2 separate regions of the Homo sapiens genome follow, and region 2 is linked to region 1. Evidence: promoter capture Hi-C in human tissues and cell types (Jung and others, 2019). All regions are on one chromosome and are shown on one strand. The core of a region is centred on a gene start or on the middle of the fragment in contact, and the rest is flanking DNA. Distances in the headings are between cores, read along the strand shown. Region 1 holds the start of USP18 (ubiquitin specific peptidase 18). Region 2 overlaps ATP6V1E1 (ATPase H+ transporting V1 subunit E1).

The links. Contacts are between HindIII fragments. The study calls those that stand out against the background at their distance.
Region 2: a fragment that was not itself captured here is called in contact with the fragment with the promoter of USP18 in region 1 in 1 of the 25 tissues and cell types used here (lymphoblastoid cells).

The regions. Positions count from the first base shown.
Region 1 is chr22:18,147,582-18,152,359 of GRCh38, reverse strand. It overlaps USP18 (ubiquitin specific peptidase 18), which reads right to left and starts at 2,190. Exons shown (of 11, transcript NM_017414.4): 1 at 2,138-2,190. It overlaps LOC124905076 (a long non-coding RNA gene), which reads left to right and starts at 3,146. Exons shown (of 2, transcript XR_007067999.1): 1 at 3,146-3,260. RefSeq lists an enhancer at 2,130-2,449. The HindIII fragment of the contact is 12,042 bases long and covers 917-4,778 here.
Region 2 is chr22:17,592,206-17,596,771 of GRCh38, reverse strand. It overlaps ATP6V1E1 (ATPase H+ transporting V1 subunit E1), which reads left to right. Exons shown (of 9, transcript NM_001696.4): 8 at 2,156-2,243; 9 at 4,036-4,566. The coding sequence ends at 4,098. Among named protein-coding and RNA genes, the nearest start is that of SLC25A18, 31 kb to the right of the region's middle. The HindIII fragment of the contact is 3,516 bases long and covers 697-4,212 here.

The DNA.
Region 1 (4,778 bases), core at 941-3,440:
CCAGGACCAATCGGGGTCCTCAGAGAAGCCCCAGAAGAGCCAGGAACAAGCTGCAGAAAACCTGGGGAGGGTGGGGCCTCCACCCAATACTCCACTCACAACTGGACTCTCTGCCAGGAAAGCCAACTCCAACATTTAGATGCCCTAAAAGGAACAAAATTAACCTGCCAGGAACATGATTCAAGCAGCCTCGGTGTCTTCCGACCCACCCCATCATGGCAACCACAATTGTAGACCGCAGTCTCGATGACGTGTTCACATTATTTTGCATTTCTTTTTTCTTTTTTTATTTTTATTTTTATTTTTGAGACGGAGTCTCCCTCTGTCGCCCAGGCTGGAGTGCAGTGGCCGGATCTTGGCTCACTGCAAGCTCCGCCTCCCAGGTTCACGCCATTCTCCTGCCTCAGCCTCCCGAGTAGTTGGGACTACAGGCGCCTGCCGCCACGCCCAGCTAATATTTTTTATTTTTAGTAGATGGGTTTGCACCGTGTTAGCTAGGATGGTCTTGATCTCCTGACCTCGTGATCCACCTGCCTCGGCCTCCCAAATTGCTGGGATTACAGGCGTGAGCCACCGCGCCCGGCCTATTTTGCATTTCTTGAGTAATCGTAATATGCGGGTTAGAACACACGGATTACAACACTTTGGATGAAAAACCACATAATAGGGAAATTTTGGGACTACTCTCTCTCAAAAAAAAAAACAGCTCGTGGAAAAACTAGGACTTACCTTCTTTGAAACTATGTTTATGTTAAGCATTTTCCCCTTTGTAAGCTCATCATTGTGTAAAAGTGTCAGAACTGTGCAACACATTTTTTAACAGTCCAAAAGCAAGTTCTTTGATAAATCAATATGAAGCCGTGCACCTGTGTTACTCTCCCTCCCGTTTTGTTCCTGCGAACACATCGGTAACCTGCATTCACTCTCCATCCAACTCTGTTCAATACCAGAAAGAAACTTCAGATGAAATGCTTTTCAGTATTTGCCTTGTTTTCTGGAACAACTTTAAAGTACAAATTATACCTAAATAAGTACAAATTAAAGCCTCTGCTTTAATTTTCAAACACTTTGAACCCAGATTTTCAGGGGTCTCAAAATGGAGTTTTGTGTTTAAAAGTCTAAATTTAGCTTTCTTCCAAGGAAAAGGGTGTGAAGAAGAGAGGTTAAGACTAAAATACTCTGATTTGCAGAGTTTGACAACATCCTTCCAATTTCTCAATATGAATGCCCACTGACCCAGCCATTCCACTTCTAGGAATTTTCCACCGATATATTTGTATGAATGTATACATAAAATTATATTCATTGCCGTATCTGTGCCAGTAAAAACTGGAAACAACCTAAATCTCCATGCATTGTTTAAACAATGTACTTCCCATACCATGTATCAGGTTTTTTTGTTTGTTTGTTTGAGACAGTTTCGCTCTGTCGCCCAGGCTGGAGTGCAACGGTGCGATCTCGGCTCACCGCAACCTCCGCTCCCGGGTTCAAGCGATTCTCCTGCCTCAGCCTCCCGAGTAGCTGGGATTACAGGCATGCGCCACCACGCCAGGCTAATTTTGTATTTTTAGTAGAGACGGGGTTTCTCCATGTCTGTAACTCCTGACCTCAGGTGATCCTCCCTCCTCGATCTCCCAAAGTGCTGGGATTACAGGCGTGAGCCACCGTACCCGGCCGAATCAGTTTTTTGTTTTATTTTTAATGCCATTAACACATCTATATGTCCTGCCATGAAAAGATGTCCATAATATACTCAGTGGACAAAGCAAGTTCGAAATGATTTTAAAGACTTGTACATAGAAACATTTCTGATAAGGTACAAACAAAAATGATACTGAGTGGAAGACTGCGAGACACATTTGTCTGCATTGTTTGAATTTTTTTACAAGCTTACAACACTTCTGCAATTTCTTTTTTTGTTTTAATTAAACACAAAGTCATGTCAAAAGTCCAAATAACTATATTAGCTTAGAAAAAAATTCACTGGCCCAAAATATATGCACGTAGTAAATACAGATCACTATCATAATTTGCAGAGCACAATTATTACTTAATTCCTTAATTATCTGACTGGCATAGGAGCAGAGTTGGATGTCTGTGCTAGAAAGAAAACTTCCAAAATGAGCCCCGAACTTGCCTCAAGCGCCATGCAAGCGTCCAGCCTCCGCTGCTGAGTTCCACGTCGGGACTGAGCCGGGGACCGAGCTGGGACCGAAGTTCCGCTCCGGGCCCGCCTTGGTCTGGCCCCGCGCTCGTGGCACCCCGCCCAGCTTTCGTTTTCCACTGAATGGAAAGCGAAACTTACAGCGGCCTCCGCGCCGGGAGCTGGGCGCCAGCGTGCGGGGAAACCCTGCCGGCCCGAGCTTCCCGCGGCTGCCGTTGCAGCCGCGCACCTGCTCCAGACTTCCAGCCCTCGCTTTTTTTTTTTTTTTTTTTTTTTGAGACGGAGTCTCATTCTGTCGTCCAGGCTGGAGTGCGGTTGCGCTGTCTCGGTTCACTGCAAACTCCGCCTCCTGGGTTCAAGCGATTCTCCTGCCTCAGGCTCCGGAGTAGCTGGGATTACAGGCATGCGCCACCACTCCTGGCTAATTTTTGTATTTTAGTAGCGATGGGGTTCCGCCATGCTGGCCAGGCTGGTCTCAGGTGATCCGCCCGCCTCCTAAAGTGCTGGGATTACAGGTGTGGGCCACCGCGCCCGACCTACAGGCGCCTTTTTATTTGCGATTTTAAGGTCCTTGCAATTAGCCTACGTGTTAGAGTCATTTGGCGTTTGGTAGTATCCATGGCAGCATTTTTTCTTTCTTAATGCTATTGTATTTCTTGGATCGGGTGTCTTCACATCACCGGCCTGTGGCTTGGATGCGGCACATGGTGTAATTAGGAGCTCCCCTGTGGGCATGCAGATACAGATATTTCTCCACTTAAGAAGGGGTCAGGGGGCGCGGTGGCTCACACCTGTAATCCCAGCACTTTGGGATGCTGAGGCAGGCGGATCACCTGAGGTCAGGAGTTCGAGACCAGCCTGACCAACATAGTGAAACCCCATCTCTACTAAAAGTACAAAAATTAGCTCGGCGTGGTGGCGCTTAATCCCAGCTACTTAAGAGGCTGAGGCAGGAGAATAACTTGAACCCAAGAAGCGGAGGTTGCAGTGAGCAGAGATCGACAAGAGCAAGACTCCGTCTAAAAAAAAAAAAAAAAAATGGGGTCAAGTCCCAGTGAACCCATCATGAAGTCGAAACATCGTAAGTGAAACCACGGTAAGTGATGGACCATCTGTGTATATATAAGGTTAAGAGATCTGTAACATGCACACCGGAAAGGCTTATTACCTCTTTAGAGATGTATTTCTTGTATGTAGACTCATGGGGGTAGGGGCAGAAGGGTTATCTGCTAGGGGCCTCAAACTCCAGCCGCTGGAATTTGCGCAGGAAAGCAGGGTACAATTCCCCCAAAGCGATCATTCTTTCTGAAAGCCGTCCCCGCAGCAACAGACAAATAGCCTCCAAAAACCCAAAGCTGCCAGAACCTCACTGAAGCGTTGGTAGGGTCTGCAGTAAGGTACAAAATACCATGGCATGAAGATGTATAAACGTGTCCATAATAGGGTGGATGTGTGTTAGAAGCATGAGCACAGATATACACATACAGGCTATCCACACGTCCATCGTCAGCCCAGACTCCGCTTACATTGCTGCTGGAACGGAGGCAGTGTCGCCCACAGTGCAGCATGTTCTCCCTGGAAGGCTGGTGGACTTTGCGCAGTATGGTGTTTACACAGGTACACGGTGGTGGGCGCAGGGTCCGTCCTCATTATATTTGCTGACCAATCAGTTATATAACCAGCTTCATACATCTGGTAAGTCTTGTCCACAAACAGGAACCTCAAAAACTCAAGTGAGGGCAATGAGGAGAGGAGGTTGCAAAATTTGATAAAATATGCTAAATACAGCAAGTCAGTAGAAGGCTAAGGAGCAAGCTGCAGTTGCTTGCAGCAACTATCAGCAGAAAACTATTAATAGTCAATCCAATGATTCTATCTGAATCTTGGTAGGTCGGTGGAGCAAAGTAATTGGTGTTGCTGCCCCAGTGCAGAATGGACAAGGGTGAACCTTGGGTTGGAGGCTGGACTATATAATGTAAGGATCCATTACACTTCTATGGGGCTCTTCCTTCCGTCCTTCATGGTACCCTCCTGAACAATTCCGTGCTAAGGCCATCAGGTGTGTCAAGCAAAGTGGGCGTTTGTGTAGTATGTTCCACAGTGGCCCAAGCAGGGTGCTGGACTGGAGCAGGTTGAGGAGGGTGGCAGCACAGTGGGGCTGCCCAGCACAATGTCAGACACAAATGGGTGCTGGTGCAGCCCGGCCCAGGGTCACAGCCCAAGCAATTTGAAGATGTGGCACATCCCGGTATTGGAGTGGCCCAGTGTGTGGTGTCCAGGGAGGGCAGGGTGCTGGTGGAGATGACAGATTAGTTACATACAGGGGGATGACCAGGTAACTGAATGTATTAAGGATAATTGGAGCCAGAGTTGAAACTCTCAGAGATAGGAGTTACAAATAAGGAAAGGGAGAATGAGCCCACTAGTGTTGAACTGGAATTGGACTTAGCAGTGTGGATCCATGATTTTCAGTATGTATACACAGATAGATAAAGAAGTACAAGGCGGGTGGATCACGAGGTCAGGAGATTGAGACCACCGTGGCTAACACGGTGAAACCCCGTCTTTACTAAAAATACAAAAAATTAGCTGGGTGTGGTGGCACACGCCTGTA
Region 2 (4,566 bases), core at 1,205-3,704, 560 kb after region 1:
ATGCTCTGTAAATGGAAAAAGTATATAAACTCATAAGATATGCTGTCAGAGTTGGGTTAGATTCCTGATTCTGCCACTTACTACCTGGGTAATCTTGGACTCGTTTATTCAGTTTCATTGAGTGGTGTCGTCCATTTAGTGTTGCTATAACAGAATACCCGAGGCTGGGTAATTCATGGAGAAAAGAGGTTTATTTGGTTCATGATTCTCATGGCTGGAAAGTTCAAGATTGGACAGCTGCATCTGGTGAGGGCCTCAGGCTGCTTCCACTCATGGCAGAAGGTGGAAGGGGAGTGGGTGTGTGCATAGAGACCACATGGCGAGAGAGGAGGCCAGAGAGCCTAGGGAACCAGACTCCCTATCATACCAGCCCACCCTCTGCTCACAGTCGAGTCCTGCCGGAGCTAGAATCCAGGCCCTCGCCACAGTTCATTGCCTCGGGATCTGCCCTTGAGCCCTGAACACCTCCTACTATGCTCCACCTCCCAACACTGCCACATTGAGAATCAAATTTCACCATTAGTTTCTGAGGGAACAGACTCAAACCATAGTAGTGAGCCCTGATTCCCTTATCTGTAAATTGACGTATTAGCACTAACCTCATAGCATTTTTTATCTTATTTATTTATTTATTTATTTTTTGAGACAGAGTCTCACTCTCACCCAGGCTGGAGTGCAGTGGCACGACCTCGGCTCACTGCAAGCTCCACCTCCCAGGTTCACACCATTCTCCTGCCTTAGCCTCCCGATTAGCTGGGACTACAGGCACCCGCCACCATGCCTCGCTAATTTTTTTTGTATTTTTAGTAGAGACGGGGTTTCACCTTGTTAGCCAGGATTGTCTCAATCTCCTGATGTCGTGATCTGCCCACCTCGGCCTCTCAAAGAGCTGGGATTACAGGCGTGAGCCACCGCACCCAGCCTCTTTTTTTGTTGTTGTTGTTGTATTTTGAGTAAGGGTCTCTTTCTGTCACCCAAGCTGGAGTGCAGTGGTGTGATCTCGGCTTGCTGCAACCTCTGCCTCCTGGGTTCAAGCAATTCTCCTGCCTCAGTCTCTCAAGTAGCTGGGACTACAGGCACGCCCCACCATGCCCAGCTAATTTTTGTATTTTTAGTGGAGACAGGCTTTCGCCATGTTGGCCAGGCTGGCCTCAAACTTGAGTTTGGGAGCACCTCGGCCTCCCAAAGTGCTGGGATTACAGGGGTGAGCTACCACGCCCGGCCAGCAGTGGCATCTTTTATCAGACACACATGCAGTCGTGATAGGGCCTCATCAGTAATGAGCAGGATTGGGCTTAAGAAAACATTCAGATGAGGATTGAGTGATTTGCAAACTGAGATGAAATCCTCTCTTTTTCATTTTGTTGGGGAGGGCTGGCTGTGATAATTAAAACAGGTTTTGTAACATAAAATCAAATTGACACAGGCTGGGCGCGGTGACTCACTCCTGTAATCCCAACACTTGTGGAGGCAGAGGTGGGCGGATCACCTGAGGTCAGGAGTTCAAGACCAGCCTGGCCAACATGGTGAAACCCCGTCTCTACAACAATACAAAAATTAGCCAGGCGTGATGGCAGGTGCCTGTAATCCCAGCTACTGGGGAGGCTGACGCAGGAGAATTGCTTGAACTCGGGAGGCAGAGGTTGCAGTGAGCCAAGATCGCACCATTGCACTCCTGCCTGGGCAACAGAGCGAGTCTCAAAAAAAACAAAACAAATTGACACATAGTGTCACTTGGTAAATGACAGTTATTGAGATGAATACAGTCAGTTCTCTGTATCTTTGGGGTCCACACCTGTGAATTCAACCAACTTTTTCTTTTCACTCCCTAAACACTACGGTATAACAACCATTTACATCGTATTAGCTATTTTAAGTGCTGTAGACATGATTTGCAATATAGGGGAGGATGTGTGATGGTTGTATGCAAATACTACGCTGTTTCATATAATGGACATCTAGGCGGGGACTGGGGTTTCCTGAAACCAACTGTGCGTTACATCTTCAGAAGCTTTTTCAGTTCCTTTCAAGCCTGTTGCTTAGGTTGCGCAGTCTACACACCAAGACAAGGGCATTCCTCTGCGGGAGTAAAGGGTACCATGTATCTTTCTCAAGTCTTTGAAAATGATTATTTCCTGTGCTTTTTTTTTTGCAGAGCTGGTGGAGTTGAGATCTATAATGGAGATCGTAAAATAAAGGTTTCCAACACCCTGGAAAGCCGGCTGGATCTCATAGCCCAGCAGGTGAGTGTGGGGGTACTTCTTGGTAGTTGGTCTGCTGTTACTTTGAAGTGGGACAGAGAACACGTGTCCATTCACTGGTATTTGGGATTTGTTGCTGTCTTTCCAGTTTTGGACATTTTCTCAAAAAGAATGAGAATTGGGCATGTAGTAGCATTTGCTGAGGTGGTAACATTTACATGAGGGTGAATTTGGGGTCAGAACAAGTGTTTTGTTGACCTAGGATTCGAATATGTACATTTTACTACATGTAAGGTGCTGACAAGTTCTTTCTCTAACAGGAGTGATGGGAACTAAAGCAAATACTTGTGTTTTTTTGTTTTGTTTTGCTTTTTTGAGATGGAGTTTCACTCTTTTTTGCGCAGGCTGGAGTGCAGTCTTGGCTCACTGCAACTTCCACCTCCCAGGTTCAAGCGATTCTCCTGCTTCAGCCTCCCGAGTAGCTGGGATTACAGGCACCTGCCACCACACCCGGCTAATTTTGTATTTTTAGTAGAGACGGGGTTTCACCATGTTGGCCAGGCTGTTATCAAATTCCTGACCTCAGGTGATCCACCCGCCTTGGCCTCCCAAAGTGCTGGGATTACAGGTGTGAGCCACCGTGCTCAGACACAAATACTTATTTAAAGGAATTATCATAAAGCTGCTGGCTTTTCAGATGTTTCCAGATTTGTACACAGGAACTCTAGGAAACAAGCCAGGAAAATTCCATTTGTTCTAAAATGCTGGGCATCTTCTAGACTTCTAGTGGGAGTCTATTGCTGTGGCTGCCAACCTAGTTATTCCCTGACCTAGATATGCAGTTTACTGTTTATGCAGATACTTGTCTTATAACTAAAGCACTTTCACCTTGATTTTTTCATATTCTGGTAACTTAAACCTCAGAACATTGTTTCCTAGTAGCCACTGTCCCATCCAGTATCATAGCCACTACTCACTTACGGATATTTAATTAAACCGAAAAATTCAGTTTCTCAGCACACAATAACCATCTGTAGCTAGGACTGCCCTGTTGGACAGCCGAGCCTTGGAAGTCCAGGGTTAAGTTCTCCTAAGGATTCATCAGTGGCTGTAGCAAGTGCTTCCAGCCTAAGCTGGCATTGGAAGTGTTCTTTGCAGCTGCTGTGGCCATAGTAGGCACTCAGTAAATGTTTGTTGAAGAAAGAGTGTAGGTGACCCAGCATATTGTGGTGAGATGATTATGATGAGTTAAGTCTGAGATAGTAGTGACTTTAGGTTTTTTTTTGTTTTGTTTTTTTTTAATGTGTCCCTTTTGTAAGCAGTCTGAACCCCAGATTTGGGATGAGTTAAGTTTCTCACCAAGGAATGTGTTACTTGCTTCAGGGAAGGAGAGGGTGGCTTTGATGTGCGTGGCTTTGTGAGTCCTTCCCAGCCACATAGAGGTTCATGGCTTTCCACCTGTGGTTAAGATGTGCAGCACTCTGGCCAGGCTTGGTGGCTCACGCCTGTAATCCCAGCACTGTGGGAGGCCGAGGCGGGTGGATCACGAGGTCAGGAGATCGAGACCATCCCGGCTAACATGGTGAAACCCCGTCTCTACTAAAAATACAAAAAAATTAGCCAGGCATGGTGGCAAGCACCTGTAGTCCCATCTACTTGGGAGGCTGAGGCAGGAGAATGGCGTGAGCTTGCAATGAGCGGAGATGCGCCACTGCACTCCAGCCTGGGCGACAGAGCGAGACTCCGTCTCAAAAAAAAAAAAAAAAAAAAGATGTGCAGCGCTCTACAACTTCTTCAGCTGACATTGCGTATTTATTACACTTTCTCTCCACAGATGATGCCAGAAGTCCGGGGAGCCTTGTTTGGTGCAAATGCCAACAGGAAGTTTTTGGACTAAGCCTTCAGGAGGTGGAGCTCGTCGTCAGCTCTCCTGCTGTGATGTGGAAGCTTCTGATATTTGAAGAAACACGAATGTCTCTGTAGCTTCCTCTTCACTGCCCCAGTATTGCTCTGTATTTATCAGCGATGCCCCTCTGTCACTCATGCCTTGCCTAATTGTTCACAATGGTGGAAAGCTTCATGTAATATGATCAGGACCCACCTCCAGTTCTTCTGAAAGTGTGACAGTGTCCAGCCGGTTCTGCAGCACTAGGGGAGGGGGCAGATGGTGGTTGCATGGGCTTCCTGGGTCTCCACTCTCCGTCTGGCCTAAAGGTGATGTATTTGGTGTTTGGCCCTGCAGTCCCCACTCTTGAGGCTTAAGGCGCATGTGGCACACCACTCCTTCCAGCAGTAGTCGCTTTACTGTTACCTGTTTAGGCCTAGAAGTTTTCCCTCATCTGTAAATGTGATTTAAAATCTAAGC